Linked DNA regions of Homo sapiens: all the other regions are linked to region 2. The links are contacts of gene promoters, found by promoter capture Hi-C in blood cells and fetal thymus (Javierre and others, 2016). All regions are on one chromosome and are shown on one strand. Each heading gives the region's core, a stretch centred on a gene start or on the middle of the fragment in contact. The rest is flanking DNA. Distances are from core to core; before and after follow the strand shown. Region 1 overlaps ZNF221 (zinc finger protein 221). Region 2 holds the start of ZNF229 (zinc finger protein 229). Region 3 overlaps ZNF222 (zinc finger protein 222). Region 4 has its middle 5.9 kb from the start of ZNF45. Region 5 holds the start of ZNF230 (zinc finger protein 230). Region 6 has its middle 7.1 kb from the start of ZNF155. Region 7 holds the start of ZNF223 (zinc finger protein 223).

Region 1 (3,708 bases), core at 152-2,651, 490 kb after region 2:
TTATTTTGTAGCTTCTTAAGGAATCTTTACTCAACTGGATTGTGAGAGAAACTAAGTAGCAGCATCTTTGGTTTTAAATGTTGCATTGAAGAGCATATTTGGGTTTATGTAGGACCCACAGTTCACTATGAAACAATTACAGATGGTGATACATGATGCAACAATTACAGACGGTAAACACCTGATGCAGACACACAGGAGATGTGAAAAAAAAAAAACAACCAAAAACCCAATAGTCTTATCTATTTTGGGCTTCTAAAAGTTGTTAGGCCCGAAGGAAACTGAGTCACTGAGCTTGACCTCTTAACTTCCTTCTTTGTTTTCTTGTTCCTGGCTCAGACCAGATAGCATCTAAGATAAAAGATTCTTTGTCTGAGATAAAAGACCCCTTTGACTATTACATCTCTAATGCAGAATGTTAAATACGTTCTTCCCAATAAAAGGAAACACTGCTATCGAATTGCTATAACTATGCATTAATCTTGTATAGAAAATGCTGACATCCTGTTAAGCTTCCTAGACCCTGCCTACATAATGACTCTCAAACCTTTCCACTTCAGAGCACTTATCCAATCTTTTGAAGTCCGTGTCCTCCCAGGTGGACATCTTAAAATTTTGTGTTTGAATAAACTCAATATTTAACCATATTGCCTGAATCTCACTATCAATGTTAACAGATTGTTCCCAAGGGAACAGCCAGCCTGATCAACTGGATAAAAGACATGGTAATGTCTGCTTGCCCTGAAAAAGCGGACTGCTCAACTCACCCTATAAATGCTCGGTGGGATACCCCAGATGATGCAGCTGATATACCGCATGCAAGCCACGTGGGACTGAATTTATGATGACTGGGATATTCATCTGCTGAATATGCTTCTTACCCAGGTCATGGTAAATGCTGTGGCTAAGGGGGCCCCTTTCGCATGGATACCCCACGTGACTTTTGTAAAAAGAAAACTCAAAATGGAGATGGTTATGTCAGAAGTTTCTAAAAAGAGGCATGTGGAGTTGGACCTCAGTTATGTACACATCCAGATGGATTTTAACCTGTTTAACTGGGCCAAATTGTAAAACCAGCTGCATTTGATTGGAATTGTTTATACATGGCCTGATTGCGAAACTCTTGGGGAAACAGCTATGCTGAACTAGATTGATCATCAACCAAAGACATCCTAAGTTGCTAACCAACTGACATCAATCATGGACTGTACTAATACCTTCCAGATATGTAAACTTACAGTAAACATTTATAAGCCCCTGCCCAACCTTGCCTGGATAGAACAGGAAATGATTTAGCTGACTGCTAGATCTGTACTTCTTGATTGCAATTCACAAGACCCCACTTAAAACATCTTTTCTTTTGTTTGTGGCTCAGTATTGATTTTATTTATTAGTTGACATCTTAACTCTTGCAAAACTGAACAACAGTCCTAGAAGCCTTATCAGATTTGCTGTCTCAGCTTCCCTTTAAAGATATTAAAGATGTTAATAAAAACATTAGGTTAATTAGCAAGAGGAAAAAGGCAGAGGGCAGAGTCAAACGACTCATCCCAGAAAGCTAGAAATTTTTTAAAGGTCATTTAAAAAACAATGATAAAGGTGAAACTAAGAAGAAAGAGAGAGAGTCATGGGACTCATTCCAACAGGGTGAAAATCTTTAGATCATTATGTTAAATTAAGTTTAGCCTAAAGCTGCTTTCTTACATACTTTAAGTTAGGTATAAAGGTTTCTCCAGGCGGGTTATGGTGGCTCATGCCTGTAATACCAGCACTTTGAGAGGCCAAGGTGGGTAGATCACCTGAGGTCAGGAGTTCAAGACCAGCCTGGCCAACATGGTAAAACCCCGTCTCTACTAAAAATTAGCCAGGTGTGGTGGTGTGTGCCTGTAATCCCAGCTACTTGGAAGGCTGAGGCAGGAGAATCACTTGAACCCAGGAGGCAGAGGTTGCAGTGAGCCAAGATTGCTCCACTACGCTCCAGCCTGGGCGACAGAGCAGGACTCCATCTCAAAAAAAATAAAAAATAAAAATAAAAATAAGAAAAGGTTTATCCATATATAACGAACTGTAACCTAACTGGAAGTATAAACAGACTGTAACCTACTCTTGTGCCAGTCACTGAGTTTTGACCAATCAAAGGGAGCCAACTGTTCAAACAAGGATCAAATAAGGCAAAAGCTGAGCTGTAACCAAACTGGCTGTTTCTGTTCCTCACTTCCACTTTTTGAATGTCACGTTCCTTTTTCTGTTTACAAATCTTCTTCAACCACATGGTAGCAGTGAAGCTTCTCTGAATCTATTCTAGCTCAGGGGCTGTCTGATTTGCAAATTGTTTTTTGCTCAATTAAATTGTTTGACTTATTTAAGATTTTTTACTTTTAACAGTTTTATTAAGAAATGGAAAAAATAAAATGGAAATTGATGAGGCTAAAACAAAGGTCTGAACACAATAATATTGAAAGTTTGGTGGATCCTCTGCTGATCCCCCAATATTAAAGGGTTTCAAATAAGTTTGTTGTATTTACTCCAGTTTGGAGAAATTTTAAAAGGCCGAAGGTAAAGATTATGATGAGAAACCCCACTTGGAATTGCTTGGGGGCAGTAGTCAAGTAGATTAGTCAAGATAAAGATTGACAAGAGCCAGGGTCCTTTGGCTCAATCCCCTCCTGCTGACTCTCAGTGTTTCGCATAAGAGAGGATAAAATGGCTGGGGGGAGTGTTGGGGTGGGCAAGTGGTGGAAAACTTCCTGGGACTAGAACATAAAAATGTAAGGGTTGATAGGATTATGAAAGTTGGACTATTTAAACAGACTTTATATTAAGAAGTTGTATCTTCTTTACCTAAATGTTTTATGGGAATGGACATTGTATCTGACTAGGGAACGTTTCTCCTGACTAGCATTACAAAACAGAAGGCATATAAATCTACCCTTCAAGCAATATTAGTTGGACATGCTAAATGGGAACCAGTAAGATTGCCTGAGTCCGCACAGTGTAGAATAGAATCTGAAGTGCTGGTATGGACAAATTCTGTTTTGATAGCTCCATGTGGAATGTAGGCTGGGGCTTATGACAGAAGCCTGTGAGTGCCTTCTAGTGACAATTACTGAGACTTTGGACTAGAAAATTTTGACTTGAAGAGTATTTACTACCCCACTATGGGGCATTAACTGAGGCTAGCCCTATGACTGAAAGACATTAAAAATCTTGACACCTGAAATACCTATGCTCTCTTAGGTAATGTTAGGAAAACATTCTAATGGGGATGGCAGTGCCCAGAAGAGTTCCATAATAAAATGGAAATAGTTTATACAGAGTCATGCTACCTGGAGACTGACTCTGGAACTGTGTGAGAAGCTATAAACAACTCTCAACTGACCAGCAAAGAGCTGCTCATTTTGTGAATGGCAGTTCCAAAGTGAATGAACATATGATTTGGAAGGATGCCACCCTGATCAAAGAAGGTAAAAACATATCAGCTCAATGCACTGAATTACACGCTGTTTTCCTAGCAGTGATGAAAAACTGAATGGTGGTAGAAACCCACTTTGGGATCTTTACTGACTCATGGGCAGTGGCAAATGGCCTGGCCATACACTCAGGCAGAAGAGCAGTGGAGATCTGGTCTATTAAAGGGGATGCCCATGTGAGGCATGAACTTACAGAAATTTGAAGTAGGGGGTGTGCATTAAAGTAGGACCTGTTGAT
Region 2 (3,748 bases), core at 1,064-3,563:
AGGCTGAATATTTACCTTGGGCCTTGGAATGGATTCATCTACCCACACTTTGTGCAGGTTGGCTCTTAGCTTCCAGGTCAAGACACCTTTTTAAAATAATTATTTTTATGTTTATTTTATTATTATTATTTTTTGAGATGGAGTCTTGCGCTGTCGCCCAGGCTAGAGTGCAGTGGTTTGATCTCGGCTCACTGCAAGCTCCTTCTCCCGGGTTCATACTATTCTCCTGCCTCAGCCTCCTGACTAGCTGTGACTACAGGCACCCCCCACCATGCCCGGCTAATTTTTTTTGTTTTCTTTTTTGTATTTTTAGTAGAGATGGGGTTTCACCGTGTTAGCCAGGATGGTCTCGATCTCCTGACCTCGTGATCTGCCTGCCTCGGCCTCCCAAAGTGCTCTGATTACAGGCATGAGCCACCGTGCCCGGCCAAGACACTTGATTGAATTGCTTAAGTGCTTCCCATGTGCCAGAGCCATGAAAGGTAAATAAAGAAAATAAAGAAAAAGAAGAGTCAATTATTTTGATGACTTAGAGATCTGACCATGGAGGCCATGTGAAAGGTGGTAACCAGCAATTTAAACCATGTGTTGCTGGATCCCAGAGTAATATAATTTATTGATTTCTCGGGGAAATGAGAATGTTCTGAGAGTGGTATTTAACATCCACTACACTCGCATGAAATTCTCCCAATCACAGACTGATCTGTTCATTGAATTATGATATAGAGTTCAAAAACACTCGATAGAGGAAATTATATTCAAGTTGTGTCTTAAATATGGAGTAAGATTTTAATAGTACAGGAAAGGATGGACTTACAGAGGGAAGAACAATAGCAGCAAATTCAGACATTTGTAAAACTGGAGGACACAGGATGGGAAGTAGGACTGTGTCTACCCAAGCAAAGAGGGGTGGGTTTGGAACCAAATATCTGAAGGGCTTGGATGCTTTGGAGTCAATTGGCAATTTTTTAGAATTTATCAAAACAATTCGATAATCTGTTTATAAGAGAGAGTTCTAGAACTTCTAGGATGAAATTTTTGAAACACAACAAGGAGGGAGAGATAAGGAAATGAGTTATCACTGTAACTGAAACCTTTCATCATGGCACAGAAAAAGCAATCTCTATCTTCAGAACACACTTGTATCCCAGAAAATATTTCATTATATATATAGTAATGTAGTAAGTGATTAGGATGCCGTTTAAATCAGAAAGGAAAGAATTAATATTTATGTAAATTTTGTTAAGAAAAGTAGACAATCCTTTGGTGAAACAGGAAACTCCATCTTCCTTTCATATCATACACTTAAATGAATCACGCGGTGATTCAAAAGAAAAATGAAAGAGCCTGAAATGAATATAGATATGCACTTATTGGGAATCAGGCTAAGGAATGTCTTTTTGGTCATACTGGAGAAAAAAAAGAAGCCACAAATGAAAAGACTGATATACCTTGTCAGATGAAGTTTTTTGTTTTTTTTTTTTTCTAAACTACTTTATAAATGTTGAAACTGGGGGAGCAATTCATCACTTAGAAGCGATATCATTCATACACAGAGAGTGTATGACAATAAAAGATGACAATGAAATGCAATCGGTAATAAGCATATTTACTCTGTCAAATTGGGAAAATAAGACAGGATATTTAGTCCATCAAATTGGGAAAATATTAAAGAAAGTGATTGTGTGTAGTTTTGATATCATAAAATTAGAAGTGTAAGTTCAATGCAGGACAAAGGGGTAACTTCCCTAAAAACTAAAGAATGCTAGGCAAGTATTGCAAATAATTTGTGTTTTTTTATTATCTCTATGTATCTCTACGTCTTTTGTGACATACAGAACTATCCACGATATATGACCTGTGGCAAGAAATGATTACAAAATATTATGATGCCATTTGGGAAATGGGATTCTTAAGAATTCATATTTACTCACATAAACCAGGGATTAAGTAAGAATTTTTTTTAAACCATTCTTTACATGTAATATGAACTACTTTTGAAATAAATATTTAGTTGGCTTTTACACCAGAAAATCAATAATGCTTTATATCCCTGGTGATGGGATGATGGGCTTGTTTGAGAATATAGTCAGGTTTGCTACAACGCGAATATGTTAGTACTGAGTAAAGACATTCTTTTCAACTCAGAAACACCTTGCATGCCGCCTCCCGCCGCCTCGCAGTGGGCGTGACTCGAGGTGGACGCGCATTTACGACACCATCGCCCCTAGGATCGGACTGCGCTGCGGAGGGTTCTGGGAAAGGTAGTCCCACACCTCGAGTCGACTACTTCCGTTTCCGGTGGGCGCGTCACCTTGATTGCTTCTTAGGCAGTGGTGAGGCGTCTTAGAGACGTGCATCTCCATGCGGTTGTACTGTCAGGCCATGGGAATTAGGATCGGCTCTATAGGACCAGTGTGAAGGGACAACGTGCGGCGGAGGGTCGAAGCCCACGGATTTCCATGAGCTCGGCCTGGTGAGGCAGGGGTGTAAGGAGGCGCACGTATCGAACATTCTGAGCGCCTGTGCGGGGTGGGCCCGGGTCGGCAGCCCTCGCAGTCCAGGCTTGGAAAAGCAGTTTGAGGCCAGCTCTGGCTTTGAGATGAGATCTGCAGTGCGGGAGACTCCACTGTGTCAGTTGCGGATCGATGACATGAATTTTCTCAGGGTAGCCGCCCACCCACTTGTGGAGTAATTTCAGAGTTTTCTGCGAAGTCATTTCTGTAAACAGGAAGTTGATTCCCTGTGTTCTAATTTTATCCTTTGAAATGTATTAAGCGCTGTGCAAGTCCTAGGAGTTGGTTTGCTGTATCGTTGCTGGCTCTGCTTTTTGTAGCCGCCTAAGCACACACAGGCAGAATTTCACTTGTAAGTGTCCCACAGCATGTGACAGTCAGCTCTGGATTAAAATCTTGAGATTTTGTCTTGATTCTCCTTGTCTCCTGAAAGGGGCAGTGAAAGTAGGCTTGTAGACGGTTTCTTTGGGCATCAGGAATGGCGTGTCCCTTGTACTCTGAGTCCTGTAGGAAGAGAGGTTCTTTTCCTCGGCTCCTGAAGCAAGTAGCGAGGGTAGATTACAGGAAGGGGTAGATTACATCCAGCTGGCACTGAGAGATTTCCCCCTGTGGCGTGGTGGGAATTGGGATTAAATCATGTTATCCTGCTGTTCATTTTTCTTTCACAGGCTTCCTTCTTGGAATTGTTCGTTTCTCGGAGATAATTGTATAAAAGAAGGAGAAATAACCCCACATCTCTTGACACTAGAGCTCCAGGTGAGTGAACTTTGGTTCTCTTTTGTGGCAATGCCAGGTCTCTTGGTGACCTCATTCTTCATCCCATTGATATCACAAATGTTCATTCAGACCCCTTAGCCACACCTGCCTTCCCCTAGAAATGGGGGAGGTTTGAGGAATTTCCCAGTGTCTTTATTTAGTGTATTCTCTTCTTGGCTCCTAGTAGTGTGTCACTGGGTCAGTAAAGGCTTACACTGTTTCAGCGCCATGCTGAAGAAACGCAGGGTAGAAATAATTAGAGTAACTGTGATGGTGTATATTAACTGAGTGCTTACTATATGCCAGGTATTATTTATCCATGGTGTCTAGGACAGTGCCAGGCTTGCCAATAAATATTTGAATAAATGAATGTATTTCTATTGAATTTTCTGAGCAAGTTTGTATGTTAGCTATTATCCCCATGTCACAGATGAGTTGCTAAGGTTTAAAAAGTTAAAAAAACTTAACAGGTAAGA
Region 3 (3,531 bases), core at 978-3,477, 420 kb after region 2:
CCAATGGAAAGATAACTTCCAAGTTTTTCCAATGGAAAGAATCTTGGAAAATATTAATTGATAAGTATGTACCTTTCAGTACACAGTAGTACATGGATATATTTAATATGCTGTCACGTATAAATAAGTCTTTAAAGAGAAGGGAGAGTATCCTTCGGGAGGTTTCTATTTTGAGAGCAGTTTCCCAATTCCTTTCAGGTCATAAAGTTCACCAGATGAAAATACAACACTATATCTCTATAAATATAAAGAAAGATTTCAGTAAAATCTATATTCCTTCACATTTTTGACAATTAAATTTGTATAAAGATGCAGAAATAGACACATTTTTTGAAGAAAAACATTTGGAAATATAAGCAACATTCAGCTCATAGATATAAAGAATTTCTCACAGACATAAACACGGTCCTTAAGGAAAGCTCAAGGGTAAGCCCCAGGGAAGGCATGTTTCTCAATGTGGTCATGAAAACCATGCTTGAAAGTTTCCATGGGATGTGGGTCAACTGCACACACAGAAAACCAACCATGTCAAGAGAACCTAAGAAAGTCAAAATTGGATAAGCAGCCCTGCACAGACAAAAAAAAAAAAAAAAAAAAAAACAAAACAAAACAAACCAACAACTGTCCTGCAACATATAGTCAGCCTCTATATCTGTGGGTTCAGCATACATGGATTCAACCAACAGTGCATCAGAAGTATTTGGAAAAAAAAAATTCCACAGAGTTCCACAAAGCAAAACTTGAATTTCTCACATTGAGTCCTATACATTGAATCCATGTGAATAAAGCGATGGGTAGGCATTGCGTTTGGTGTTATACCTAATATAGACATGACTTAAAGTATATGAAAGGGTGTGTGTAGGATATACACAAATACTTTACATGTAGAAGGGACTTGAGCATCCTTGGCTTTTGGTATCCACAAGGGGGTCCTGGAATCAAACCCCACGGCTACCAAGGCATGACTATATAACATTCACTCTTGTATGTCTGTTACTTATTAGCTATCTCCATGATTCTTACAGACAGTCAAGTCCTCTCATCCATTAATTCATTCATAAGAATACCAAATATTTACAGATAACTGCCATGTACCAGGAGTATTCTAGGTGCTGAAGATGCAGTCATAAAGAAACAGATAAATGCCTTCAAGAGATTACATTGCAAAGGGGAGGGGCGACTTATCAGTAGACAAAAATACATGAGACACAACACAGGCAGGCCAAGAAGAGTAAAGATAGGATAGTATTTTCAATAAGGTGCTTGGAGACGACCTCTCCCATGATATTAAAACTGAGCAGAGAGCTGCATAAACTAAAAGAGGGGTCAGTAAGTTTTGTGGGGACAGTGTATTCCAATCAGAGAGAAGAGCAAGTGAGGGCTCGGAGGCAGAAGCTTTTGTAGTAGAGAAAATAATCATTCCTGAAAGATGTCTACATCCAGTCCTCAGAACCTATGAACACGTTATGTTCCACAGCAAGGGAGATTAAAGCTACAGATGCCATTGAGGTCACTAGCCAGCTAAGCAGAAAGTGGGAGGGTCATCCTGAATCATCCAGGAGTGATGAATACTATCACAAGGGACCTGAAAGGTGAAAGAGGAAGGCATAAGAAGAGTGGCAGAGGAAGCATGACTATGGAAGAATGGTCAGGGATGCAATGTAGCTGCTTTTGAAGATGGAGGAAGGGAAACAAGAGCCACGGAGTGTGGACAGTGACTAGAGACTGGTAAACCAAAATGAAGTCTTCTCCCCATGAACATCCAGAAAGGAACAAAGCCCTAAGACCACTTGATTTTTGCCCAGTGAGATGTGTCAGACTTCAGGCCTACAGAAGAGAAAGATAAGTGTTTCTTGTTCAGTCTGCTGAGTTTTATGTCACCGGCCACAATAGGCAATACAATGTCCTTGGCAGGATAGAGAAACAGCAGGGAGGACAAGGTGCCTGGAAAAGATGGAGCAAGGGGGAGAGGACAGGAGATGCAGTCAGACAGTGTGGGATGAAGGGCAGATCACAGGGTCTACAAAAGCCACTTAAAGAGGTTGTAACACTAATAAAAACAAGAAGCCAGAAAGGCTTTGAGCTGAGGAATGGCAATGTGACTTCCGTTTCCTACGGATCACTTTGGCTACCGTAAGAACAGATGGCAGGGTGGGAAGGGTGGGAGCAGGGGCATCAGCAGGGAGAAGGCTGTAATAATCCAGGAAACAGGTTTGGCCATTTACCCCAAAATGCTGGAAATGGGCATGGACAGAAGTAACAGGAATCACATGCAGGGACACACAATTGCTTGGTTCTTACCCAAATTCCCTTCTCTTTGGCTTGTTGTCCCCATCACCCAAAACTTTTCTTCCCTTAGGAAGTGGAAAGTATCTCCATGGAATGGTTGATGCCCTGTGAACAGGCAAAGTCACATGCTTAATCCCAACATGTTCAAGGTAATATCATGTTGGTGCAAACGTAATTGCAGTGTACCATTACTTCCAATGACAAAAACCACAATTACTTTTGCACCAACCTAATAGCCAGGCAAAATTTACTGGAAATGTAGGTTCTCACTGCACACTCAAACTTGAAAACCCTAGGATTAAAAAACCACTCCTGGGGCCTGACATTCCATTACAGGGGGTGCCCGTCCTCACCCACTGAGAGCAGGTTCCTGAAGTTCTCAAGCATCACATCTCGGTACAGCTTCCTCTGGGCAGGGTCCAGCAGCCCCAGCTCCTCCTCAGTGAAGATCACAGCCACATCCTTGAAGGTCACTGCCTCCTACAACATCAAGCAGATGTCACCTCAATCTTACGGCCAAAGACTATTGGGAGACAGCAGCATTGCACTGGCACAAGGGACAAGTGTAAAGTTGTTTTGGATCTTGAGAGACATAGGTCAGCTTATAGATTTCCTACTTATTCTGTTTGTGTCCTGACAATGACTGATTAGGCAATAGGGGTTTGGAATGGAGACTGCACACACCAGTCAACAGGGTGTGTCCTGAATAAATAGTGGGTAAAGGACATTTACTGAGATGCTATCTCTAACTCCACTTCAGGAAAGCTTGCTGCAGAGTTAGAGTGATATAGTCCAAATGCTCTGTTTGAGTCGCGGGCCCTTTGACGAAAATGAGACTGAGGCAGGAGAATCACTTGAACCCGAGAGGCGGAGGTTACAGTGAGCCAAGATTGCACCACTGCACTCCAGCCTAAGCAACAAGAGCGAAACTCTGTAAAAAAAAAAATATATATATATATAGAGAGAGAGAGAGAAAGAAAATAGTAGATAAGGTTAAAAAAATTAAAAAGCAAAAAGCAAACAAACAAAAACTCCTATAGAAGTCCAAGCCCCTGAGCCTTGCCTCAAGGTGCCTTCAATCAAGTCCTAACTTACGTTCTCCACCTGTTCCCAGCTAGTACCTCTGCCTCAATGAGAATTGCATTCAAGAGATGATCAACTCAGGCTCTAACCTGGACTGCCTAGGTTTCAACTCCTGCTCCACCTGTGTCTCACGCCCATCTTTAAAATGAAAAAAGCAGC
Region 4 (3,919 bases), core at 1,267-3,766, 510 kb after region 2:
ATTATTTATTTTAAAAACGTGACCCGATCAGGCATGGTGGCTCACACCTGTAATCCCAGCACTTTGGGAGGCCGAGGCGGGCGGATCACGAGGCCTGGAGATCGAGACCATCCTGGCTAACGCGGTGAAACCCCGTCTCTACTAAAAATACAAAAAATTAGCCCGGCGTGGTGGCGGGCGCCTGTAGTCCCAGCTACTCGGGAGACTGAGGCAGGAGAATGGCATGAACCCGGGAGGCGGAGCTTGCAGTGAGCCGAGATTGCGCCATTGCACTCCAGCCTGGGCGACAGAGCCAGACTCCGTCTCAAAAACAAATAAACAAACAAACAACAACAACGAAAAAAAGTGACCCAACTATAAGCTATATATAAGAAACTCACTTTAAATATAATTATATAGAGAGACTGAAAATGGAGTGATGAAAAATATGTGCCATGAAAGCACTAATCAAAAGATTGCTGATACAACAAGTGTTGGCACAGATGTGGAGAAATTGGAAACTTTGTGCATTTCTGGTGGAAATGTAAAATGGTGTTGTCACTGTGGAAAGCCATATAGTAGTTCCTCAAAAAAAAAAAACATAAAATTACCATTTGATATAACAGTTCCACTTCTGGGTGTATACACAGAATGATTGAAAGCAGACACTTGAACAGATATTTGTATAGCAATGTTCATAGCAGCATTATTCACAATATCTAGAAGGTGGCAACAACTCAAATGTTTGTGGATAAATGAATAAACAAAATGTAGTATATACATACAACAGAATATTATTCAGCCTTAAGGAATTAAATTCTGACACGTGATAACATGAATGAAGCTTAAAGACATTATGTTAAGTGAAAGAAGTCAGACATAAAAGGACAAATATTGTATGATTTCACTTATGCGAGGTACTTAGCATAGTCAAATACACAGAAACAGAAGGTAGAACAGCAATTACTCGGGGCTAGGGAGAGAGAGGATGTGAAGTTATTGTTTAATGGGTACGGAGCTTCAGTATGTGATGAAGAAAAAGTTGGAGATGGACAGTAGTGATAGTTGCACAACATTGTGAACATACTTAGCACTACTGTACTGTTCACTTAAACAGTTAAAACAGTAAATTTTATGCTATGCATATTTTACCACAATAAAAAGAAAAACTGTATGGCTGATGTGGTTACATTATTATCAGACAATTTAGACTTTAGGTCAATGAAAACTTCCAGGGATAAAGTGAAACATTACACAATTATAGAGGATCCATTCACTAACAAGACCTAACAATCCTAATTGTGTATGCACCTAAAAACAGAGCTCCAAGATACATAAAGCAAAAACTGATCAAACCTAAAAAACAAAATAGATAAATACACAATCAGAAATGAAAAATAAAAACCATTATTTATAATATTAGTAACATTGAAAATATGAAATATTTCTACATAATTTTTATAGCTATTCTGCCCTCAAGGAGATGGGATATAATTCCCTATTTCCTCCATGTGGGCTACTCATAGTGACTTCCTTCCAAAGAGTACAATATGAGAAAAGGGGAAAAAGGGTGAGGAAACCTAACAAACACTACCTCAGCTACGTGATCAAGGTCAACGTCAAGAGTGATAGGTTATATTGATCATGTACCCTTGAATGACATGATAAAAATGGCACTTTACTTCCCCAAAATCCATAACCTTAATTTGATTATGAGGAAAAAATCCATTTGAGGGATATTCTACAGGACACCCGACCAGCACTCCTCAAAACTGTCAAGGTCATCAAAAACAAGGAAAGTCTGAGAAACGATCACAACCAAGAGGAGCCTAGGGAGACATGATAAACTAAATATAACATGACATTCTGGATGGCATACTGGCACATAAGAAGGACATTAGTTTAAAACTAAATAAATCTCAACAAACCGTGGACTTTAGTTAATAATAATGTATCAATATTGGTTCATTAATTCTAGCAAATGTAACATACTAACGTAAGAAGTTAATAACGGGAAATTGGGTATAGGATATATGGGAACTTCCTCTACTACCTGCTCAATTTTTCTGTAAATCTAAAGCTTTTAAGTATGAGGTTTATTTTAAAAACGACTATTTAAAGGTAAATCTGATCAAAGACATTCATGACATCTACATTGAAAGCTATAAAATATTGCCAAGAGAAATTAAAAGAGGCCTAAATGAATGGAGCAATATAGTATGACTAGGGATTGGAAGATACGATATTGTTAAGTCATCAATTCTTACCAAATTGATCTATAAATTGAATGCAGTCCCGATTAAAATTTCAGCAGGCTGGCCAGGTGTGGTGCCTCATGCCTGTAATCCCAGCACTATAGGAGTTCAAGAAGTATGGATCACTGGAGGCCAGGAGTTCAAGACTAGCCTGGCCAACATGGCAAAACCCCATCTCTACAAAAATTAGCCGGGTGTGCTGGTGCACACCTGTAGCCCCAGCTACTTGGGAGACTGAGGCAGAGAATCGCTTGAATTCAGGAGGTGGGGGTTACAGTGAGCTGAGATCATGCCACTGCACTCCAGCCTGGGTGACAGAGTGAGACTCTGTCTCAGGAAAAAAAAAATCACATGCTTATTTGAGGAAATTGACAAGCTGATTGTTAAATTCATATGAAAATCCAAAGCATCTAGAATAGCCAAAATAACCTTGAAAAAAAAAAGTTGGAGAATGGATGTTGCCTGGCTTCTAGACTTTTTATAAAGCTGCAGCAATCAAAACAGCATAATATTGGCATCAAATTAGACATATAAATCAAAAGAACACTATAGGGAGTCCAGAAGTCAGAAATAAACCCACACACATATATGGTCAAATGATTTTGTACCAAAGGTCTCAAGTAATTTAAAGAAGGGAAGAGTCTTTTTAAAAAATAAATTGGAAAAAAAATGAATTGGAAACACCTATACAAATAGTAATTACTTGGATGACAGGCCTAAATATAAAAGCTAAAGCTTATAAAACTTCTAGAAGAAAACATAGGAGAAAAATCTTATCTTTGGAGTCAACAAAGATTTATTAGATATAATTTTTTTAAACTAACTATAAAAAAATTGATAAATTGGACTTCATAAAAATAAAAACCTGCTCTTCAAAAGATTTTGTTAGAGATAAAAATACATGCCCAGAGTGGAGGAAACTATTCTCACTACACATATCTGACAAAAGGTTTTTTATCCAAAATATAAAAGAACTCTTAATTCATGAATAATAAGACAACTAACGCAGTTAAAAAAATGGGCTCAAGATTTAAGCAGACACTTAACAAAATACATAAATGGCCAAAAAGCACATGAAAATGTGATGAATATTTGGTCACCTGTAAAATGCAAACAAAAACCACCGTAAGCACTACACACCCACAGAATGACTTAAAAAGTCTGACAACACCAAGTGTTGGTGAAGATTGGAGATGCTGGAATCTTCATACATTTTGATGGAAATATAAAAATTACAACGCTTTTGGAAAACAATTTGACAATTTCTGATAAAGTTAAGCCTATAAAAAAATTACAGAGTGGCACAAGGGAAGTTTTGAGTGTGATGGATATGTCCATTACCTTGATTGTGGCATGGTTTCTTAAGTGTGTACATATGTTAAGTCTCATCAAATTATATACTTTATGGGCAGTGTACTGCACATCATTTATGCTTTCATGATGCTATAAAATATAATGTAAGCCAGCACTTTCACTATTAGGAATCTAAACTACAGAAGTAAAAACATATGTTTACACAAATCGTTGTTGTGAAATGTCCACATCAGCTTTGCTCATAGTAGCAAAAAATTGAAAGCATTCCAAATGTTTATCAAGAAATAAATGGATTAATAAGTTGTGATATATCCGTATCATTGAAGAGTACTCAACAGTAAGAACAAATAGTACAACCCGAATGAATTTTA
Region 5 (3,731 bases), core at 283-2,782, 450 kb after region 2:
AAGTGCTGGGATTATAGGCATGAGCCACCACAACCAGCCTCACTAGTTTAGTCTCTATTAGCAATATTTAAAATTTTCTATAGTTAAAAGACATATGGGAAAACACATTAAAATATAACAATTTTTAAAAAAATGTTTATCAACAAATATAGAAGTAGACACAAAGAAAGACAAAAGAAATCAATTAGAAGCTTAACAGTTACTACCTTTACATCTTGGATACATGGGTAATTAAAAAACTTTTTCTACTCTCATTTCTCCTATTTCAGACTTTTCCACAATGATACAGTTCCACAACAGTACGAAATACTTGGAAAACATGAAACAAAATAGTTGAGAAATTTTTAAAAATTCCTAGACGTCCAAGCCCACGAGCCTTGCTCTCAACGTCCTTTCAATCAGGTCCTAACTTGCTTTCCCTACGAGTCCAGCTAGTTCCTCTGCCTCAATGAGAATGTATCCAAGAGGTGATCAACTCAGGCTCTGACCTGGACTGCCTAGGTGCCAACCCCAGCTCTACCTCTCACTAGTTGGCTGCTATGCACCCTGTGTCTCACTCTCATTTTTAAAACAAAGAAAAGCAATACTTCACAGAGCCACAGTGTGGCCTAAATTTATTTGTATAAAGCACTTAGAATGAAGTTACCAATTACGGCTTAATGATTATCAACACCCATTCCCGAGGACACACTCTCGGTTGGGTGAACATCTCTATAAAGGAAAAAAGCCAAGGACCAATCACATAGAGATTTGCCCTCAGTAGCCAAGAAGTCCCCTCCCTGCAGCTCTTTTAGAAAGGTCAGGCTGGGGAAGGCGAAAGTTGTGAAATACCCTGACTGCATCGCGGTCCCCCATAAAAGTTAAATGCTCCCCGCCCTTCGTGGAAGCGGACGCAACTCGCTTTCCTAAAAAGAGGTCAGAAGGCCTCCCGGGATCATCCAGCGTCCTGCAGGGATTAGGGAGAAGGACCAGGGCCCCTGCAGCTGAAGCTATGACTCCACCCGGGGACCTGACCTCTTCGGGAAGTTAACAAGAGACCACCAGTCACCAAGTGACAGGGACTGCTTTAAGGTTCTCATTTGCGTTATCTCTTTCAGTTCCCAAAAACGATTCTACTAGGATGGTTCTAATGTCCCCATTACCAAAAACAGCAATGGAAAGTATAAGGACATTGAGTAACACTCCACGTCACACTGCGAGAAAGCGGTCGCACAGGTAGGGTGGAGAGAGGCAGGCTGAGCGAGGTCAAAGTCCTGGAAACGCTCACAGCAGGGCACAGAGGACCCCGCCAATTCCAACCCCCGGGATGCGAGCACAGCACCCCCATCCCAGAAAGCTTCCGTGGACGGGAAAAAAACCCCATTCCCCGCCCCCACCAAACCTCCGCTCTCCGCCAAGGCTTCTTTTCCCTTGCTTGGATCATCGATCATCGGGTCGTTGCGACCCCAAGCGAAGGTGACAAGTTCAGAAGGACCCGCCAGACGCAGAAATGGCTCAAACTACGCGGTTATGTAGCAACCGCAGGCTCACACACCGGAAGTGCTCGCGTCTCCACAGAGCGTCTGGACTCCACTTCCCAGAATTCCCCGGTTCAACTGCTTGAGCCAAAGGGTCCGCCATTCCATGAAGTTGATGGACTACAGTTCCCAGAATTCACTCGTCCACCCGCCTGAGCCAACTTGCCCGCGACTCAGAGTGTGTCTGGACTCCGCTTCCTCCAATGCCAAAGGAAAATGTCTATAATCTCACTCTTCAGCGGGAAGCGTTGGACTCCGCGGTGGTCCTTGACTACACACACCGCAGTGCCCACCGGGAACGTATTCCATATCTCTGAGCGCCTGGTGGGGAATGTGGACTGTGACCCTGTGAGTCGTCCGTCTCTCTTCCTGAGTCTTTGAGCGAAAATAGTGTATAGACAGGAATTCCTGAAGTCTAAACGCCTCCCACGATGACAGGAGTGTTATTGGGAAGAGAACAAACGAGGAGATAAAATCTTCAAGGATTAGGATAATCTGACGATGGGAGGTTAAAACTAACGGTTTAAAGGATGAGCCAGGTGGAATGGTTTGGCAGGGGCAATGAGGAGCAGGAAGACACCAGCCCCTACTCCAGAAGCTGTGGGACCACTGGTTTGGCAGGAAAAGCCACCCCCATTTAAGATCACAGCTACTAGTGGAGAAGCGGTGTCGTCATGGAATAGCTATCTTCCCATAAACTTTTCATGGTATTCATATTTCTCCTTAGATGTAGAAACATCAAATTTCAGCGAATGTAGTGAATTGCTCAGTACCTCAGAGCAATAATGACTGATGAAGAGCTAGGCATTGGTATCAATCTTACATTGAGATTGTAAATGCAGTAAAACGGGAGGATTCTATAGGTGAAGGAGCATGTCTTATAAAGAGTTTTCTTCCTGGCCAAGCGCAGTGGCTCAAACCTGTAATGCCAACCCTTTGGGAGGCCAGGGCAGGACGTTCCCTTGAGCTCAGGAATTGGAGACCAGACAGGGAAATACAGGGAGACTTCGTCTCTATAAAAATTTTTTTTTAACTGGCCAGGCATGGTGGCCTGATCTTGGGACTACAAGTTCCAAGTACTCAGGAGGCTGAGGTGGGAGGATTGCTGAAGCCCAGGAGTTTGATTGAGGCTGCAGTGAGCTATGATGCCACCACTGCCCTCCAGCCTAGGCAACAGATACCTCAATAATTAAAGATTTTTTTTTTTAAGTTTCTTCTTATTTCTTGGTGAAACATAATTTCTTTATTATAGTTAGCAATTTAAAAACTGGCATTGGTTAAAAAATAATAACAGTATAAAGCTAAATTAGGAAACAATTCATCTAAAAACCTGCTCTTTTGAAGGTAACTTTTTTTCTCCCTATAAACATACATTGGCCTATAAACCAATATTCTTCTTTTTAAAAAAAATGGAGTCTACTGTTTACCTATTTTTCTAAACTAAAAACTTTTCAAAATTTTGTTTAGACACAAAAATAAGGTGACTGTGCCAAACTTTTGATGCCAAACATCCGCTCTCTGAAAATTGAGTGATCACTATTCATATGCCAGTTATAGCTGTATCCTTGATCTACTCTGCCTTCCCGAAAGATAAGATGTATTGACACACTCAATCGTAGCATGCAGGGAACTGAGCCTAAAAGGTTAGGGGCACTTGGCATCAAAGGTCCCTTCTGCTTCCCAGGTCCGTGCACTCTGGGTCTGTGTTGGGAGGAGCAGCCTCTATGATCTCCTAGATGCCTTTGGGGTCATTCTTCCAGTGTTAATGGACAGCAGGTCCTGGCTTCTGTTGACATGACCAATCCAAACTAATCTCCTAAATCAGTTGCTTATCTCTACCGTTGTTTTATCCAGAACAGGTTTTCTAATTTTTTTTTCCAAAGTAGATAGGCTGTGAATTTTTAAAATTCTTAGTTCTGTTTCCCTTTTAATTAATAATTCTGACTTTCTGTGGTGTCCCTCCCACATGTGGGAATTCTGGGAGATACAATTCAAGCTGAGATTTGGGTGGGGACACATCCAAACCATGCCATTGATGACACTGACAAAAACAACAGGGAAAGGACTCCCTATTCAATAAGTGCTGCTGGGATAACTGGCTAGCCATATGCAGAAGATTGAAACTGGTCCCCTTCCTTACACCTTATACAAAAATGAAGCTGGGCGCTGTGGCTCACCTCTGTAAAAATGGGTAATAATGTCCCCACTTTTAGT
Region 6 (3,564 bases), core at 389-2,888, 470 kb after region 2:
GAAGCTTCCCTCATTTTTCAAACACAGAGATTGAGACTCTGCAATAATTCCCAATTATAATAATGTACCCAATTTCAAAGTTAACATAGTGAACTTGCCAGGGTCATATACATAAAAGAGACCCAGTCCATCGTGAGAAGTGGCAAGAAATACTGGCCACACAAAAGCTCAGGTACTACATATGAAGCTAGGTATTCAATATTCAGTTTTATTGGGAGTCAAATACTCATGCAGTCTGTGAGACATAAATATGAACAATAAAAACAAATCAGCTGTTAATATCATCCTGTGACCAATTTGAGGACCCAGACACACACGAGGGTAGATGGAAGGCCTACCTATGGTATTTTTTATTATAAAAATATTTAAAAATGTAATCTGATGAATTTTCTTTTACAAATAATTATCTTAGAGATGAACTATTATCTGGTGATAGTTTAAGAAAACCCCACAAGACTGCAGGCCCTACTTTTCTGATACCACATGCACAAAAAGTTAACATAGCAGGCATAAGTCAGACTGCTAACTTTAAAAAGAGCTGTTTGCAACACTGGCCTTTGGCTGGAGTCAAGGAACATGGGGTTTGAGAGAGTTACCACCTTTCCATAATGGGTAGGAGTGGTCACTGCGCCTAAACTCTACAATGCAGCTTATTTGGAACACTTGCTCTTCTTCTTAGAGTTGGGAATCTTGATATGTACTAGACACATACCTACATAATCAATCTCAATAAGAACCTGTGCTGCTGGTTGCTAATGAGCTTCCATTGTAGACATTTCACAAGTAGTATCACAATTCAATGCTAGAGGAGTTGAGTCTTATGTAACACCATGCAGAGAGGACTCTGGTAAGCTTGCTTCTGGTTTCCTCTAGACAACTGCCCATGAGCCATTTCCCTTTACAGATTCTGTTTTGTATCTTGTCACTGTAATATTGTTATAAGTACAACTATAGTCTCAGTTATTTTAGTAAATCACAGAACCCAGAGGTGGTCTTAGGGACCTCCAATCTACTATCCAAACTGGCACAGCATGAATATAGCATCATGAAAATACATTATTTAGAAAATTAATTATGAAAAGCTTACTATCTCAACTAGACACTTTGAAGAATGCCTTTTAACCTAATACAGTTAAGTTACACCATGGTGTATAACTATGAATTAGCACCCAAATCAGCTCTTTGTCCGAGCTGGTTCCACACACTAAGAGACTGCTGCTGTCATGTTAAGTTCCCTGATCATGCGCATTTGTTCTTCAAAGAATCTGTTTTTTTAACCTCCACAACTATATATACCCACATTATTTCTGTCACTAGGATTTGCTTGCTTCCTGACTTATGCCTAAAGCAGAATCACACACATTAGTTATGAAGGCAGTTGACCACACTCATCAATCTGTATATCCAGGTGACCAGATACATTTTTTTATTTTGAAATATGACTTCCACATCCCTATTCCTTAATTTTGAACTGTCATATGACAATGTAGAGCAATCTTATTCAGAGTCCTTATAGGTAAGTGATTAATATTAATAATTTTTCAAATTTTTCATCACATAACTGCTTTGGTAAAATTGGTGTTCAATGAGAAATTTAAAATGCATAAAATTATAAAATGAAAAATTCCAGCAAATACTCATTGCCAGGGAAAATGTCAGAATATTCATCCACAAATGATGTACATACACACTAAAAATAACCAAATAAACAAACCCAGAAACACAAAGACACTTAGTTTGTTATGAAGGCTACAATAGGATTTCCCTAAGGCATACATTATGCTCTTCTCTTTTTATTGTACATCTATGTCATCATTTTACTGGCTTTGTGTTTTTATATTAATAAATGCACTTCATACAAATTCCTGTGGTTGAACACTTGTTCTTTCCATTTTAAAATTAAGTGACATCATCCATGTAATCTACTAATTTTCAGAGTTTTAATGTTGTAATTTTCTATCCTATGATTTCCAGGTTGAACAGTTGTACCTTATACATACTGCCATATACCACTTTCCAAAAAACGTATTCTTATGGCCAACAATAAAGAAGAGTATGTAAAGGTTACTCTTGCTCCAATAATGAATATGTATGATGAAATCACCAAACTCCAACAAATGTTCTTGGTAGTTCATAGAGATGGGAAGAAATACTGAGGTTGCCAAAAATTTTCCTTCAAATTTGGCAAAGCTTCTACCTGAGAAGTCTGATAAAAGAAATAACTACAGCAATTAGAAGGCAATCATATTAAAGCCTGCACAGAAACGCAGAATCACAAATCATGATCAATTCAAAACTTATTAGGAATTTTTTTTTAGATGAAGTCTCGCTCTGTTGCCCAGGCTGGAGTACAGTGGCACAATCTCAGCTCACTGCAACCTCCGCCTCCCAGGCTCAAGCGATTCTCATGCCTCAGCCTCTCAGGTAGCTGGGATTACAGGCACACACCACCACACCAGCTAATTTTTGTATTTTTAGTAGAGACGGGGTTTTGCCATGTTGACCAGGCTGATCTCGAACCCATGGCCTCAAGTGATCCACCTGCCTCAGCCTCCCAAAGTGCTGGGATTACAGGAGTGAGCCACCACACCTGGCCTTTACCAGAAAAATTTTTGTCAATGTAACTACATCTGCCACATTAGAAATGTTACTGTGGGCTGGGTGTGGTGGCTCATGCCTATAATTCAAGCACTTTGGGAGGCTGAGGTAGGAGGATTGCCTGAGCCTAGAAGTTCAAGGCCAGCCAAGCAACATGGTGAGACTGTCTCTATTCCTTAAAAATAATTTTTTAAAAGAAAAAAGTGTTTACTGTGAATCCTGCCTTAAAATTGTTGAAAAAACTTAATTGTACAATATGCAGTGGTCTGTTATTACAAAATCTTTTCACCTCATATTGTGAGAAAAGTGACAAATGATTGTTAAATTTATACTATATACAATCAAGGGAACACTAGACAGAGTCCCAAATAATAAGAATCCGACTTGAGAACAGAGGATGAGGAGAAGCCAGGAGCCAAGTGGAATAAGATAATAATCAAAATAAAGGTCTACATTGCAGTGCTGAGTGTACCCTGCATTTCAACTCATGTTTCCATAAATTATTTCTTGCAAGATTTCTCCTTTTTAATACTATGATTTAGTTTTTTCTTCAACTTTTATTTTAAGTTCAGGGGTACATGTGCAGGATGTGCAGGTTTGTTACATAGGTAAATGTGAGCCATGGTGGTTTGCTGCACAGATCAATCTATCACCTAGGTATTAAGCACAGCATCCATTAGCTATTCTGCCTGATGCTCTCCCTCCCTCCACCCCTCCAAGAGGCCCCAGTGTGTGTTGTTTCCCACCATGTGTCCATATGTTCTCATCATTCAGCTCCCACTTATAAGTGAGAACATGCAGTGTTTGGTTTTCTGTTCCTGTGTTAGTTTGCTGAGGATAACGGCTTCTAGCTCCATCCATGTCCTGGATGATCTAATTTCTTTTTATGTTTGCATAGTATTCCATGGTCTATATGTATGACATTTTCTTTATCCAGTCTATCATTGATGGGCATTTGGGCTGAGT
Region 7 (3,463 bases), core at 450-2,949, 400 kb after region 2:
CTGAGAGATGGCCTCGTGGGAAGGGAAAGACCTGACCGTCCCCCAGCCCGACACCCATAAGGGGTCTGTGCTGAGGAGGATTAGTGAAAGAGGAAGGCCTCTTTGCAGTTGAGGTAAGAGGAAGGCATCTGTCTCCTGCTCATCCCTGGGAATGGAATGTCTCGGTATAAAACCCAATCGTACATTCTATTTACTGAGATAGGAGAAAACCGCCTTATGGCTGGAGGTGAGACATACTGGCGGCAATACTGGTCTTTACTGCACTGAGATGTTTGTGTAAAGTCACACATAAATCTGGCCTATGTGCACATCCAGGCACAACTCCTTTCCTTAAACTTATTTATGACAGAGTCCTTTGCTCACATGTTTTCCGGCTGACCCTCTCCCCACCATTACCCTATAGTCCTTCCACATCCCCCTCACCAAGATAGTAGAGATAGTGATCAATAAATACTGAGGGAACTCAGAGACCAGTGCCGGTACAGGTCCTCATTTGCTGAGCGCCGGTCCCCTGGGCCCACTTTTCTTCCTCTATACTTTGTGTCTGTGTCTTATTTCTTTTCTCAGTTTCTCATTTCCACCTTGTGAGAAACACCCACAGGTGTGGAGAGGCAGGCCCCCTTCAATATCAAACTCCAAATGAACAACTATGGAAATGTGACAGCTAAAGACAACGCATAAACTGGACTTTGAATAGGTGAAGGGTGGGGCAGAGGACAGTCATAAGGACTTTAAATGAAAAATTTAACAAATTCGTATATGGAACTGCAGATTAGATAACATGATGCTAGGTAATATGCTATCCAACACTATCTAGTAAGTACACTACAAATACTAGTATTCTTTTAACACATCTATCTGACATGTAATCGGTAACAGTATTATTTAACATAATATCCAATATTATCTACCATGTTATGTGAAACCCTATAACCAGCCCTTCCTAAATGCCTCTTACCAAGACACCCCACAATTACCGTGGTATGTGGGCTTCCTTGCTGCAGAAAGCTACCAATCAGCTGTCTCTGGTTACAGGTATGTTCCTGGTGGTATTTGGTTGATGGTCATCAACAAAGCAAACAGGAAAAATGTAAACACTTGGCAAATTTGGGTAAAGGGTATATGAGAATTTCTTATACTGTTTTTGCAATTTTTCTATAGCTTTGAAATGATATCAAACGTTTTAAAATATCAGGCAACAAGAGACCACTCACCAAGTGACAGGGACAACTTTAAGGCTTTCATTTGTATTATCTCTTTCAATTCGCAAAACAATTCTATTAGGATGACCCTATAAGCACCATTTTAAAGAACAGCAATGGGAAGTACAGAGACATTAACATTCCACATCACACTGCGAGAAAGAGTGTACACACTGCATACGTAGGGAGGCGGACTGAGCGAGGTCAAAGTCCTGGAAACCCTCAGAGCAGGGCACACAAGGCCACCCCAATCCCACCCCCCGGGAGGCGAGCAAAGCCCCCCGACGCCAGAAGGCTCCGCTGACGGGAACAATAAACACCCTCCCCGCCCTCGCACCTCTAAACCTCTGCTCTTCGCCAAGGCTTCTTTTCCCCTGAGACGATCATCGATCATCGGGTGGTTGCGAGCCTCAAGCAAAGGGGGTTCGTTCAAAATGTCCTGCAAGACGCAGAAATGGCTCAAACTACCCCGGTCATTAAAGCAGGAACCTCAGACTAGGAGACCGGAAGTGTCCTCTCTGCGCCAGAGTGTCTGGACTCCACTCCCCAGAATTCCCCGGACCCGCCCCCCTGAGCCAAAGGGCCCGGGACTCCGCAGAGTGTCTGGACTATCGTTCCCAGAATTCAACGGTTCACCTGCCAGAGCCAAAATACCCAGTGTTCCACGAGCCAGTGGACTACACTTCCCGTAAAATGGACTACTCTTCCCAGAATTCTCCGGAAACGCCTACCTGAGCTGAAGTATCAGGAATCCCGCAAGGTGTCTGGACTGCAGAGCCTCAGATGCAAAAGGAAAATGTCCATCACCTCACCCTTTAGGCTCAAGTGTTGCGACTACATGGTGCTCCTCGATTACACTTCCCGCAACACCCACGGGGAACGAATTTCATAGCCCCAGGTTCCTGGTGGGGAATGCAGACTGTTACCCTGACAGTTGTCCTTCCCAGAGTCCTCGAGCGAAAATATTGAATAGAAAGAATTTATGAAGTCTAAATGTCTCCCATGATTGACAGGAGTGTTCTTGGACAGGGAACAAGCGAGGAGATACAATATTCAAGGAGCTAGATAGAGTGACTGTTGAGCCGTCAGATGGCTGAAAGGAGGCTCAGGGTTTAAAGCAAGGATATCCAACTCCAGGGCCACAGACCTGTACCGGTCCACTGACTGTTAGGAACCGGGCGGCACAGCAGGAAGTGAGCGGCAGGTGAGGGAGCATTATGGCCTGAGCTCCACCTCCTGTGAGATCAGCCCAGCATTACATTCTCATAGGAGCGCGGATCCTATTGTGAACTGTGCGTGCGAAGGATCTAGGTCAGGCGCTCCTTATGAGAATCTAATGGCTGAGGTGGAACAGTTTCATCCCGAAACCATTCCCCAGTCCGTGGAAAAATTGTCTTCCACAAAACCGGTCCATGGTGCTAAAACGGTTGGGGACCACTGGTTTAAAGAATGAGCCAGGTAGAATGGGTTGGGAGGGGCAATGAGAAGCCAGGAAAGCATCAGCCCCTGTAACTGAAAAGTAGATCAGTGGCTTCCCGTTTGCAACGTCCAGTTAACAAGAGGGAGATCTGGTATAAAGAAAGTGATTTATTCTAGAGCTAGCGTAGGGGAAGTAGCACAGGTGTTGTCTTTAAGTGCACGGCTTGGCTTTTAGAGCAGAAAGCAGGCACTTTTAAAAGGTAGGGGAGGAAGAGGGAAGGGGTCTGTGTGCTGGCTTGGTGCCTTATCTATTAGGCAGTTGAGCTGGCTTTTTCATGGGCAGAAATAAGTTGTAACCAGAAGGGAGAGAGTAGCAGGCACGCTTTCAACTGTTGTCTCTTCAGGCAACCTCCTGGTGAGTGAGAGTTCAGAGGCCAGCATGCTTTAGTTTGTAAATTGACTGTTAATTCTGGAGGAGAGTTCTGGCTTGGAGCACACAGTTAGATGAACTTTCCCTGTAGGAAGTGTCTGGTGAAGGGGAGGTAAAAGTCTATATTTGCATTTTTAAAGGGCTACATAGGAAGTGGGGAACTAAGGGAATGAGAAAAGAGAGAGAAATAAATAAGCTGTCTCTTAGAAAAATGGTGGTTCTCAGTTACAGCCCTAGTCCAGATGCTGTGGTACCACTGGTTTGACAGGAAAAACAAAATTCCAGCCACCAATGGAGAAGCTGTGTCCTCATGGAAAAGCTACATTTAACATTCTCATGGTAGTAATATTTCTACTTTAGATGTAGAAACGCTAAATTTCAGAGAAGTTAGTGAATTGCTAAGTATCTTAAA

What was found. The method cuts DNA at HindIII sites, captures the fragments that hold promoters and counts their contacts. A CHiCAGO score of 5 or more calls a contact.
Region 1: a fragment that was not itself captured here is called in contact with the fragment with the promoter of ZNF229 in region 2 in 4 of 17 cell types (M0 macrophages, erythroblasts, M2 macrophages and 1 more); the score reaches 8.4 in M0 macrophages.
Region 3: a contact is called between a fragment that was not itself captured here and the fragment with the promoter of ZNF229 in region 2, in 1 of 17 cell types (M0 macrophages). The highest score is 5.3, in M0 macrophages.
Region 4: a fragment that was not itself captured here is called in contact with the fragment with the promoter of ZNF229 in region 2 in 1 of 17 cell types (erythroblasts); the score reaches 5.1 in erythroblasts.
Region 5: the fragment with the promoter of ZNF230 here is called in contact with the fragment with the promoter of ZNF229 in region 2 in 4 of 17 cell types (M2 macrophages, fetal thymus, total B cells and 1 more); the score reaches 5.8 in M2 macrophages.
Region 6: a contact is called between a fragment that was not itself captured here and the fragment with the promoter of ZNF229 in region 2, in 5 of 17 cell types (erythroblasts, M2 macrophages, M1 macrophages and 2 more). The highest score is 8.9, in erythroblasts.
Region 7: the fragment with the promoter of ZNF223 here is called in contact with the fragment with the promoter of ZNF229 in region 2 in 2 of 17 cell types (erythroblasts and neutrophils); the score reaches 5.6 in erythroblasts.

Annotation. Positions count from the first base shown.
Region 1 is chr19:43,955,500-43,959,207 of GRCh38, reverse strand. All of the region lies in intron 1 of ZNF221 (zinc finger protein 221), which reads right to left. Among named protein-coding and RNA genes, the nearest start is that of ZNF221, 6.1 kb to the right of the region's middle. The HindIII fragment of the contact is 1,773 bases long and covers 515-2,287 here.
Region 2 is chr19:44,447,037-44,450,784 of GRCh38, reverse strand. It overlaps ZNF229 (zinc finger protein 229), which reads left to right and starts at 2,313. Exons shown (of 6, transcript NM_014518.4): 1 at 2,313-2,476; 2 at 3,185-3,272. The HindIII fragment of the contact is 11,359 bases long and covers 1-3,748 here.
Region 3 is chr19:44,026,261-44,029,791 of GRCh38, reverse strand. It overlaps ZNF222 (zinc finger protein 222), which reads right to left. Exons shown (of 4, transcript NM_001129996.2): 2 at 2,643-2,769; 3 at 2,302-2,394. Among named protein-coding and RNA genes, the nearest start is that of ZNF222, 2.6 kb to the right of the region's middle. The HindIII fragment of the contact is 1,659 bases long and covers 1,398-3,056 here.
Region 4 is chr19:43,939,248-43,943,166 of GRCh38, reverse strand. No RefSeq gene overlaps it. Among named protein-coding and RNA genes, the nearest start is that of ZNF45, 5.9 kb to the right of the region's middle. The HindIII fragment of the contact is 910 bases long and covers 2,062-2,971 here.
Region 5 is chr19:44,000,758-44,004,488 of GRCh38, reverse strand. ZNF230 (zinc finger protein 230) reads right to left here and starts at 1,532. Exons shown (of 5, transcript NM_006300.4): 1 at 1,382-1,532. It overlaps ZNF230-DT (ZNF230 divergent transcript), which reads left to right and starts at 1,619. Exons shown (of 3, transcript NR_110727.1): 1 at 1,619-2,224. RefSeq lists an enhancer at 1,260-1,769. The HindIII fragment of the contact is 6,099 bases long and covers 1,339-3,731 here.
Region 6 is chr19:43,975,288-43,978,851 of GRCh38, reverse strand. It overlaps a transcript of ZNF221 not described here. Among named protein-coding and RNA genes, the nearest start is that of ZNF155, 7.1 kb to the left of the region's middle. The HindIII fragment of the contact is 1,108 bases long and covers 1,085-2,192 here.
Region 7 is chr19:44,050,272-44,053,734 of GRCh38, reverse strand. It overlaps ZNF223 (zinc finger protein 223), which reads right to left and starts at 1,699. Exons shown (of 5, transcript NM_013361.6): 1 at 1,540-1,699. RefSeq lists enhancers at 1,473-1,712, 1,532-2,033 and a silencer at 1,753-1,812. The HindIII fragment of the contact is 18,414 bases long and covers 1-3,463 here.